Regions from separate parts of the Homo sapiens genome. Here all the other regions are linked to region 4. The links are contacts of gene promoters, found by promoter capture Hi-C in blood cells and fetal thymus (Javierre and others, 2016). All regions are on one chromosome and are shown on one strand. The core of a region is centred on a gene start or on the middle of the fragment in contact, and the rest is flanking DNA. Distances in the headings are between cores, read along the strand shown.

Region 1 (3,096 bases), core at 509-3,008, 200 kb after region 4:
ATTATTTTCCACATTGTTTGAATGTCTGTAATGTGTGTGAGACCCAGCTGAATTTAAAATGTGGTTCTACCATTTACTATAATCCCAGGTAAACAATCTTTCATTTGCTCATTTATTTCAGCAAAAAATGATAAAAATTCTTCATCATTTAGGGGTAAAAATATTTAGCATAGTTCATGGTACAAGTTAATACTCAAAAGAGAATTACTCATTATATCAGGAAATGTAAAAGCGAAGAAAAGAAAACTAGGCCAAAGTAAAATATTAAGAGGTGCAGAGACTTTAATATCAGCCAGATGTTAACCCTTGCCCTCTGTCCTTCTGAGACCCGTGTAAGTATTAGCTGGAATCTAAACCCCATAGGTTTGTGGGAATCCGGAGAACTCTCCATGATTTCTTCAAGTCACCAGGGCTTCCTTCTTCGTGGTCCTCTCCACTTCTAAATACTCACGTTTTGCTCCCATGACTCATAGCACAAAACTCGATTCTTTCACTAGTTTCAGCAACGACAGCAACAACAAATCCACTTAATGTAAATAATTCGCTAGTTTCATAACTTGACTAAAGACAAAACAAATAGATTAATTCTTTATTTACTGGACCTCCTGAGAAATAACTGAGCACAGCCTCGAAAATAGAACGTAAATTTCATTAGCCCGGTTTCTAAAACACGTGCAGTGTGGAAGGAGTAGAGGAAGTGAAACAAGCTGTTGCTCTCCTCCTATCTTTCTCCAAATTTTACCTCAGGACCCTGATGGCAGGAAGAAAAGGACACTATGTGACTTCAGTGCCTAACAACACAGTCCTGGAAGTTTACGCTGTTGATACTATAGCAAACATTGTAATCATTTTGTGAGGGATTGGATTCTTCCCTTTATACTGTAGCATAAACATTGATATATCAATGTGTTTAGCCATTTAGAAATTATAAAGAAGGGGAGTGTAACTGACATTTCATTGAACATACCTTTCATATATTACAAAATTGGTCTATTAATGCTGAAATAAATGTTCACATTTGGCCACTCTTTATCACCATCACTGTAGTGAAACAGGTATTCTTTACTCAATAGATTACGATACACATAAGTAAACAAATAAAATCTAAAGAAAAGATTTCCTACATTTATATTTTATGCCATACATATAAACATGTGAAATTCAAAATTCAAAACGGAGGAAAACAGGATGGTTAATCATGATACATTTCTGGTTATACTGTAATTATTTGGGGGAACTTCACAGTACTGGTGTACACTTTCCTAACTTCTAGGGTAACTTCAAATTTTTATCCTGCCCATTCCCAAAATATATGTGTATTTTTATGCTTATCCAATCCATAGTGCCAACTAATAACAACCGTTATGGGCTGAATTATAGGCCCCCAAATTTCATACATTAAGTGCCTAACTCCCAGTACCTGAGAATGTAACAGATTTGGAGATAAGGTATTTGTTTTTTTTAAAAAAGAAGTGATTGAGGTAAGAAAAGGTCTTTAGGGTGCACCTTAATCCAATATGACTGATGTCCCTATAAGAAGAAATAAGTTAGACACAGACTTGAGTGTGTACAGAAGGCCACATGAACACAGAGTGAGAAGACAGCCATCTGCAAGCCAAAGAGAAGGGCCTTAAAAGAAACCAACCCTACTAACACCTTGATCCTGGACTTAACGGCCCCCAGAGCTGTCTTTGAGCCACCCATTCAGTGGCATTTATTACAGCAGACTTAGCAAATTAATACACCAATGTTAACTCCTGTCTCATTTTTTGATGGGCCTGTATATAATATGTAATGCCACATTAAGCTGTTAATATTTTCTTTCAAGAAAATATAATATTATGTTTTATAGTCAGAAAGTTTAATCTGTCTTTTTTTTTTACATTTTTCAAAGATAAAATATAATATTGGGTATATTATCCCTCTCAAATCATTGTGCATTTTCACCCCAAATTGAATGTAAATACAATAATCATAAGAGAATTTTCTCAACTTTAGAAAGTTCCGCTACTAACTTTATTATATTATATACAACATGTAATATCTGGCATGGAGTGCTACAGAACCAGTATCTATTACAAAGTGGGCAGTCAATAAATGGTAGCTAGTGGTCACCTTTAGTTCACCAAAGAATACTGAGAACTCAATATCCTTTATATGACCTTCTCCACCCTGACGTTGGAGAAATTTGTAAGTGTTTTAAGAACAAAATAGATTCTAAGTGTATGATGAGTTTTTTCAAGCTATGGAATATAAAGAAGTTCTTGAATTTTAAACAAAGGTAAACTGAGGCAAACACGTTCTCTTCTTAACTTACTCTTGTGCATGTCAGGCCACTGGTGGGTGCGGAAAGTGTAGGCTTCAGTACACTCTCTAATGCTCTCCCATCAATGAAAGGCCAAAGGAACAACAACAAAAAAAACAAAAACAAAAGGCAAGGTCCCAGGTCCAAAGAGGAAAGGATCAAACTGCTTAGACTTGCATCCAGTTCAGGATAAAGGGAACACTTGTGACTCACATGTGGTATATACCAATTCCATATATATACATAAATATTGATATGTGATGCCAAACCCTCACTAAAAACCGTAACTTTGTCTAAATATTCTCTTTGGCATCTATTTTTTGAGGGTCTTTTGGGGGGATGATGTGGAGGAATCTATGGAGGAAGCCAGTTATAGACTCAGAATCTTTACCACGCTTTACACATTTAATAGTAAATACATGTTAGTAAGGCTTACCAATTGCTGAATGTAGCTCCATCTGCCCACATCCACGTTTTGTTTGCATTGTGCTTGCTCAGTTCAAACCAATATAAAGACGGCCCCAGATAATGCATCAAAGATTCCCTTTACAAAATACAGAGTGCTGTCATAGATTTCTTCTAGTTTTCTCATTCTCACTCCCTCCAGTGCCCTTTAAGTCTATTATTATCTTGCACAGTTACTGCAAAGGCCGTATAACATGATTCCCTCCGTTTACATTTGAGACTCAGTAGCCAACCTCATCACAGCAAAGATTATGATTCTTTTAAAACTTAAGTCAGATCCTATTACATTTTCCCTCATAATTTGGCAGTATCTCCCTATTTTGCTT
Region 2 (2,967 bases), core at 1-2,500, 140 kb after region 4:
ATACTGAATATATTATTCAGTAACTTTTAAAATATATTCATATGTAATATGATATATAATATTGTATTATATAATGTATTTATATACAAATGTATAAATTTATACAATTGATTGAAAGTAGAAAATAACACTGGTTTTACTAGTGGCTGGAAGGCCTTCTTAAAACTTTTGATTAAAATGATATTTTATGCTACCATCAAATATTGATCTCATTCCCCGCAAACCTGTTTTATCTAACTTTAGGCAGAATTATAAAACCGGTTAAAATACGGGAGGAAGGATAAAGTGTGCATTCTATTGTACCACAGCAATAATTTTTTTGACCGTAGCATACGCTGGTAGGTTGACATTTAGTTAAACGGGAAATGCTTAAAGCTCATCACAGTCCCTAAATCTCTAAATCATAGATCGTTGTATTGAATGCATTTAGTTTCAGCCTTTTCTCTTTCAAATATTTTGACATAAATAAACCCTGTTGAAATCTCAAAGATGTAGCTTGGATCTTATATATTCCGAACTTGCTATTTAATAAATCCAATGTTACCAGGTTGTTTCATAGTGTATTTTTTAGAACATTTTCTTTCCTTATCCTTCTTAGGGTTGGTAAAGACATCTCCATGGATATCGGAGTACTAGCAATTCCTTAGTAAGAGTAGGAAAGGGATATATTCTTTCCGTTAAGTACTCCTAAAGCCCGGAGTATCTTTACACCATCCAATAAAGCAATCTTTAAAAATATTAGAACTATTGGCTAAATTTATCATATTATGTATGCATTCTGAGAACTGTATGAGTATCTGGATCATATCTATCATCTTCTCAAGTATTTGTTTTATAAAATACTTAGTAAAAATGAAACTAAATCTTGAGCAGTTTTAAGTCATGGTTAATCCTTCTCCATTGTAATTCAAATAATGTAAAGTAAGTCTGAATTTATTAGGACAAAACAGTCATATGCAAATCTCAATCTTGTTATAAGAAGGAATTTTCTAGTTTCACAAAAGAAACCACAAAATTTAATTCTTTTCTCGAAGGCTTTAACATTCTGCATCACAATTTCAATAAATAACGGTCATTCTAAACAAACAAAAATGTTCTTACCGTGCTTCTTTTAATCAGCGTTTTGATTTTCTGCTAGCAGCTTTGTGTCATGTCTTGCAGAAACTCTCTTCAAAGTTGTAACTTTATTTAACTTTAATATAAAAATGTTACTCTTGTTTTTACAGCACAGCTCCAAACTAGAGGTATACCACTTTTGAAGAGTAACTCAAAGTATAAATAGCATTTTGCAAACTGGAAGTAACCATGTGACTATCTATTAGTCATACTGTTGTTTATTACAATTTTCTTCTCGTCAAAAAAGAAAGCTTGCCAAGGAGGAAGGAAGTTTGTGATATAACAATTTAAAGCTGAAGAATAAACACATATTTTCTTACTTTCTCAACTGGGATTCTCATCTGAACCACAGAACACGAAATTGCTCAAGTGGCTGTTTTTCTGATTCATCCAGGAGTGGTACTTAACCACGTATCCTTCCAGAACTGTAGGAGAGGCTGATACTAATTAATTCAACAGCATTCTTTAGGACATTACTGCTTTCTTATCCTGTGTTAAGAAAGATCACCTTAAAAGCGATAGAATCAAAGAAAAAGCAATGGTTTAAACTTTGGCTACTGAAAGAAAAACAAAAACTATTATCTCTCTCTCAAAGACAAATGCGTGCAAAGTCACACGTGTGGGTGTGAGCACACACACAAACACACACAAAGACACACAGAGGGAAAAAAGAAAACGAAAGTAACAAAGTGCCCAGAACGTTATCATCAGCATACAAGATGACACCATTATGCTTTTGCTAAGTTACCAGGCCACAATTTTGTCTTCAAATCTGCTCTAATCAGTTTCCCAGTGATTTTGTATTACCCCTCAACAAATATATTAGGGAGGAAACTGAGGAGAAGAAGCCAGTGTCCCGCAAGCGGCTTCGGGATTAACACTGCATTTGTTCTGAGAGAGAAACTTGAAGAGGAAAAGCAAATGAGAATAGAGAAGAAACTGTAGTACAAAGGAATTAAAACAAAGAAAATATGAAGAGAATAAGAAATACAGGTTTAATCATTTCTGGGCAGAAGGAAAGGACAGATAACAAAATTGCTCTTTTCATTTTTGGACAGAAAAAAAAGACAGAAAATTCATGAGGAAATGAATATATTCTACCTTTGTTGTTAACAAAAGATTGTATCCAAAGAACTATTAGAAAAGCATGTATAGAAAAATATAGAGATTACTCAAGTATGGTTGAGTGAAATTTAGTTTTGTTCCAAAAAGGAAAACAGTCAAGATACAACAGTTAAGATATAAAACATTTTCAACACAGGGAAATGTTCCCCGCTGTTGCTTTGCAGTTCATCCTCACCCCTGAAGCCAGGCAGCAGCCAACTTACTGTCAATAAACATGAGCTTTGCTGGTTTTAGAAATTCCTGTTAAGCAGAATGATACAGTTGGCAATTCTTGTAAGTCTGATGTCTTTCACTGAGCATAATGTTTTTGAGTTTTATCCATGTTTTTGCACAGATCAGCAGTTAATTTCTTTTTATTACTGAGTAGTATTTCATTGTACAGACATAAAATATTTTTATCTATTTTATAATAAAATGTATCCATTATGACATTGAGCTTTTTCCACTTCTTGGATATCATAAGGTCAAAATAAACATTTATGCAAAAGTTTTTCTATTGACACGTTTTTTAATCTTTTGAAGAAATACCTGGATGTGAAACTGCTAGGTTACATAGAAAATGTATGTTTTATTTTATAAATGTATTTTTTTCCAAAAAGTTGTGCCATTCCCAACATGAATATTGGATGGTTCTATTTGCTCCACATAAATAGCAATATTAGATATGCCCAATCTTTTTCAATTTAACCATTCTAGTAGGCGTGTAGTAGAATCTAAATGTGATTT
Region 3 (2,811 bases), core at 182-2,681, 180 kb after region 4:
AAAGTAAAAATAAGATTTATATTTACTTGGTACTTTTGAAACATACTGCAATAGAAACCTAAGAGACTGCATACTGCAATAGAAACCTAAGAGACTGCTTATAGTCTTTTTTTTACATTTTATCCTCATGGATAGAAAGAATCAATATTGTGAAAATGGCCATATTGCCCAAAGTAATTTAAAGATCCAATGCAATACCCATCAAACTACCTTTGACATTCTCCACAGAATTAGAAGAAAACTACTTTAAATTTCATATGAAACCAAAAAAGAGCCCATATAGCCAAGACAATCCTAAACAAAAAGAGCAAAGCTGGAGGCATCATGCTACCTGACTTCAAACCATGCTACAAGGCTACAGTAACCAAAACAGCATGGTACTGGTACCAAAACAGACATACAGACCAATGGAACAGAATAGAGACCTCAGAAATAATGCCACACATCTACAACCATCTGAACTTTGACAAACCTGACAAAAACAAGCAATGGGGGAAGGATTCTCTATTTAATAAATGGCGCTGGGAAAACTGGCTATCCATACACAGAAAACTGAAACTGGACCCCTTCCTTACACCTTATACAAAAATTAACTCAAGATGGATTAAAGACTTAAATGTAAAACCCCAAACCATAAAACCCCTAGAAAAAAATCTAGGCAATATCATTCAGGACATAGGCATGGGCAAAGACTTCATGATGAAAACGTCAAAAGCAACAAAAGCCAAAACTGACATATGGGATCTAATTAAACTAAAGAGCTTCTGCACAGCAAAAGAAACTATCATCAGAGTAAACAAGCAACTAACAGAATGGGATAAAATTTTTGCAATCTACCCATCTGTCAAAGGTCTAATATCCAGGATCTACAAGGAACTTAAATAAATTTATAAGAAAAAAAACATCAAAAAGTAGGCAAAGGATATGAACAGACAACTCTCAAAAGAAGACATTTATGCAGCCAACAAACATTTGAAAAAAAAAGCTCAACGTCACTGATCTTTAGAGAAATGCAAATCAAAACAATAATGAGATACCATCTCATGCCAATCAGAATGGCAATTATTAAAAAGTCAAAAAACTAAAGATGCTGGTGAGGCTGTGGCGAGATAGGAATGCTTATACACTGCTGGTGGGAGTGTAAATTAGTTCAACCATCGTAGAAGACAGTGTGGTGATTCCTCAAGGATCTAGAACCAGAAATACCATTTAACCCAGCAATCCCATTACTGGATATATACCCAAAGGAATATAAGTAATTCTATTATAAAGACATATGCACACATATGTTTATTGCAGAACTATTTACAATAGCAAAAACATGGAATCAACCCAAAGGGCTATCAAAGATAGACTGGTTAAAAAAAAATGTGGTACATATACACCATGGAATACTGTTCAACCATAAAAAAGAATGAGTCCATGTTCTTTGCAGGGACATGGATGAATCTGGAAACTGTCATCCTCAGCAAACTAACACAGGAACAGAAAACCAAACACTGCATGTTCTCACTCATAAGTGAGAGTTGAACAGTGAGAACACATGGACACAGAAAGGGCAACAACACACACTGGGGGCAGTAGGGGGTGGGAGAAAGGGGAGGAAGAGCATTAGGACAAACAGCTAATGCATGTGGAGCTTCAAACCTAGATGATGGATTGGTAGGTGCAACAATCCACCATGGCACACACATACCTATGTAACAAACCTACACATTTTGCATTTGTATCCCAGAACTTACAGTAAAATAAAAATATATTTTTTAATTAATTTTCTTTGTTGATAAACAAATCTTTCCTTATTTATAAGTATAATTTGTCCTGTCTTGCATATTTCAATATTTGTTTTATTGGTTGCTTTTTTTAATCTAGCACGTTACTAAAATAATAAGGCAGAGATACATATGTATCCAAGAAACAATTATATAAATAAAAAAGTAAGCTAAATAAAAAATAAACAAAAATTAAAAAAATAAATATAATATTGCTTATGATGAACATTTGGAAAGCTAAAGACAACTATACAATCCTCAACCATTTTAACCCAAGAAACACTTTTAACAATTTTAACCCACCCAGGAAATGCTTACAGAAATAAAAATAAATAAAATAAGCAACAAATAAATAAAAACAAGTAGTATTCATTGTGGTGGGCATTTGGAATGTTAAAGACAACTATAAAGTCTTTAACCCTTTAAAGACAAAGAAATCTTATATACACTTTACTTGGAAAGAAGTACAAGTAATACGTGAGTTTTGGCTTAAAATTTGCAGAATGATTAAATTTGAATTAGCAAAAGAGAACTAATTGTCAAGCAAGAGCTTGATAATAAAGATAAAATAACAAATAAAAATAAAAATGGAAGATTTCACCATGTGTCATTTAACAAGGTGAGAAGAAAATGGGTTGCTCTAGGATATGCTTCAATGTGAAAGGGCATATGTCATCGATTGGAGACTGAAAAGTTAATTCCACATGGAAAACAGAAAGATTTGTTTATAATAATACAACTCAAAATGATTTAAAATTTTTCATATGACACACCAGAATAAGAACATTGCTAATACATTGGAAACTCACCAACCATTGAATGTGGTGCCATTTGTCCATTTCCAAGAATCTCCTTGTTTCCTGCTTAGTCCAATCCAGTGCATATCAGTTCCTGCGTACCTCTTCAAAAATTCCTTTCACAAAACAAAGGGAATCAGCGATTACTTAATATGTTACAGCACATTGCTGAACATGCTTCCCACCCCAATTATTCTATCTTTTAGGATTCACATTCTAATTTGTCTTCCCTGATGCTTCTA
Region 4 (2,706 bases), core at 11-2,510:
AATGCGGAATCAAAAATATTGGTTTTGTTGCTTAAACTGAGTAAAATAACCTCTAGAAAAAGAAACTAACTACAGGACATTTTTGAAGCATAGGGGAATGACAGTGCAGTTCTAGTCCATGTTATTTTTCAAATTATGTTTCACTATTTCATAGGAAGTGAAAGTGCCTAAGCTGGAAGAAAAGAAAGCAAGTTAGCCTCTGCTGGGTAAAATAGAGAGGTAAGGTTTAAAATAAGAAACAAGATGCTTTTACAACCAGAAAAGGACACACACTAGATTCCTTTGATAACTATAAACTTTTGAAAATATAAAGAAGAAATACATTCCTTGGAAATACGAACAAAGTAGCAGATTCATTCCACAAGGGCAAATACAAAGGAGGAACTTTAAATTATTTAAAACACCTACATAAACTCTATGCTACAAAAATTCTTACCCTAGAGCAGAGAATGGAAATGTAACAAGACAGAGAAATTTCCTTAATACTTCAAAGAATAGAAAAGACACTGGCTATGAAAATCTATAATTTTTGAGGGGGTTTGGTGATGAAGGCACCATGTTAAGTTTAGGCATATGCTTATCGCCTCTGATTCCAGAAATATTCAATTACCTAGTCATTAATTCTAGACTTTATAAAATTAAATCTAACGTTTCATGTTTTCTTAAGTTTACATTTTTATCCTATTGATATTGTAAAAGAATAAATAACAATATGAGTAAATTGCCACAGGTATTTTTCCCAGTGGAGATGAATTTATCACATTATGTTAAAAGGTCAGATTTGATTGAGAGTGAGCAAAGCTGTGGAGCAGAAAGGCGTGATCCCGCTAGAAGTTGCTGTGTGAATATAAACATTCATCACGAGAAATCAAGAAATAGAAAGGCTATGAAAACAGAAGCAAAGTTCTACATATTAAAACCAAAGTGGCAATTTATTTTATGAACAGACATTTTGCTTCATTAAAAACATTCGCTCTTATTCTTAGCATTCAATGAATTTTGCTTTGAATCCAATCTCCTCTTTTCAGTTTGGCAATTAGATACATAAGAAAGAAATAAAGGAGATAACTAGTAAAATCTTAATTCTCAAAGGCACCCTAAATCCAGCTTACCAGATCTCTGAAGTGGAAACGCGAGTTCTAACGGGGAAGTCCGAACAGTTTTGATGTCAGCGTAGACTACATCTCCAGCCATTGCACAGATCAAAAAGAGAGAGAAGACCACAAATGATGTCCCACTGAAGGGACAATCATATTTCTGCAAAGAAACTTCTGATAAGTAAATTGAGATGGCAAATTTCCTTCTGCTCCCCAAGTGGGTGGTGGACTTCCTCCATGAATAAATGACAAAACCAATGTGTTCAGTCTTACTAATCAAGGTAGCAGATTTCTCGAATACTTGTATGACATGGAAGAAATTACTAACCATACAGTAGGTTCTCGTTTTTCAGTTAGTTTTCTGCCTAAACTTGAAATGCTTTTAACTTTTATTAATACCACAGAAGATATCTCACCATTTTCTCCTATAGACCACTTCCTCTTTTAGTTCAGGCATATATTCTCTGGCGGAAACTCTGAATTTCCAGCATCTTCTCCAAAGTAGGATAGCTATTTGGGAAACAGAACAAGAAAAAGAAGGGATTTTATTACGAAAGTTACAGAAAGGGGCCCTATGTCTTTTATCCTCCTCTCTAAATGCATTGTATTGTCTAGATAATACCTTAAAAATTCTGAAAGCTATTTGCTTTCCTGTATGCTTTATAATATTAACATTAAACTGAGGTAAAACATGAATTATGCAGAGGACTTCTGAACTAAAAAATATATATTTAAGAAACAGAAATAACTCTGTTAAAATAATTCAAGGTAATGACATAAAAGAAAAAAATCTAATTTTAAAATGAGGTGTTCAGAAATTTACTATCGAATACAACATAGCAAACATAGATTTTATCTCCTATTTCTTCTAAAATTCCACTAAAATTGAATTAAGTGAATAAAAATTTGTTAGTCTAAAACAATAACACAAAGGCTCAGGGTCCTATTAGTTGATGAAAAATTTCAACTAATTCCTGGAAAATGGAGAGTAGATGGAGATGTGATCATTGATGAAGAAGTAAAATCAGAGAAAAATGCAGCCAACACCATACAGAGGGAAATAATGGAGGAGAGCCTAGCTACCTGTGAAACCGTCATAGGACATAGAAATGTCAGATATGAAAAATGGCAGGATCCATTAGCTTATGACTAGTAGATTAACTGGAAATCTGCATATGGAAAAACTGGTTTTTTCAATACCCACTCAAGTGCATTCTGCAGAATTAATCTAAACTGCAGTCACCCCATCCCTACCCCTCATCCAAGAAATTTAACTTAGGTTAATTAAATAACTAGAGAACAGATCCTGGCTTTGTGGCATTTAGGGATCCCTCCTATAAAGACCAACTTCTGACCCTGGATGAGGCTTGAGCACCGACCTCTGTCTCTTAAGACTGCATGACACTCTCTCCCTTTTCTGGGCTGTTCCAACTGTTTGTATGTGACTAGACAATACCTACTACATACATGAAAAACTGACTTTTAGAGGTTTTATTATCTGCAGGTGGTTGCATAACCAATAATTTTTTTTTTTTTGAGACGGAGTCTCACTCTGTCACCCAGGCTGGAGTGCAGTGGCGCGATCTCGGCTCACTGCAAGCTCTGCCTC

Evidence for each region. Contacts are between HindIII fragments. The CHiCAGO score rates a contact against its expected background, and 5 or more counts as called.
Region 1: a fragment that was not itself captured here is called in contact with the fragment with the promoter of CLECL1 in region 4 in 1 of 17 cell types (activated CD4 T cells); the score reaches 5.1 in activated CD4 T cells.
Region 2: the fragment with the promoter of CLEC2B here is called in contact with the fragment with the promoter of CLECL1 in region 4 in 7 of 17 cell types (monocytes, non-activated CD4 T cells, activated CD4 T cells and 4 more); the score reaches 7.6 in monocytes.
Region 3: a fragment that was not itself captured here is called in contact with the fragment with the promoter of CLECL1 in region 4 in 1 of 17 cell types (activated CD4 T cells); the score reaches 5.4 in activated CD4 T cells.

What each region holds. Positions count from the first base shown.
Region 1 is chr12:9,936,322-9,939,417 of GRCh38, forward strand. It overlaps LINC02470 (long intergenic non-protein coding RNA 2470), which reads right to left. Exons shown (of 5, transcript NR_104634.2): 4 at 2,742-2,849; 5 at 258-493. Among named protein-coding and RNA genes, the nearest start is that of CLEC2A, 5.5 kb to the left of the region's middle. The HindIII fragment of the contact is 6,613 bases long and covers 1-3,096 here.
Region 2 is chr12:9,868,104-9,871,070 of GRCh38, forward strand. CLEC2B (C-type lectin domain family 2 member B) reads right to left here and starts at 1,251. Exons shown (of 5, transcript NM_005127.3): 1 at 1,102-1,251. The HindIII fragment of the contact is 5,556 bases long and covers 1-1,365 here.
Region 3 is chr12:9,914,119-9,916,929 of GRCh38, forward strand. CLEC2A (C-type lectin domain family 2 member A) reads right to left here. Exons shown (of 5, transcript NM_001130711.2): 4 at 2,582-2,685. Among named protein-coding and RNA genes, the nearest start is that of CLEC2A, 17 kb to the right of the region's middle. The HindIII fragment of the contact is 6,691 bases long and covers 1-2,811 here.
Region 4 is chr12:9,731,837-9,734,542 of GRCh38, forward strand. It overlaps CLECL1 (C-type lectin like 1), which reads right to left and starts at 1,261. Exons shown (of 2, transcript NM_001441815.1): 1 at 1,113-1,261. The coding sequence starts at 1,194. The HindIII fragment of the contact is 6,540 bases long and covers 1-2,706 here.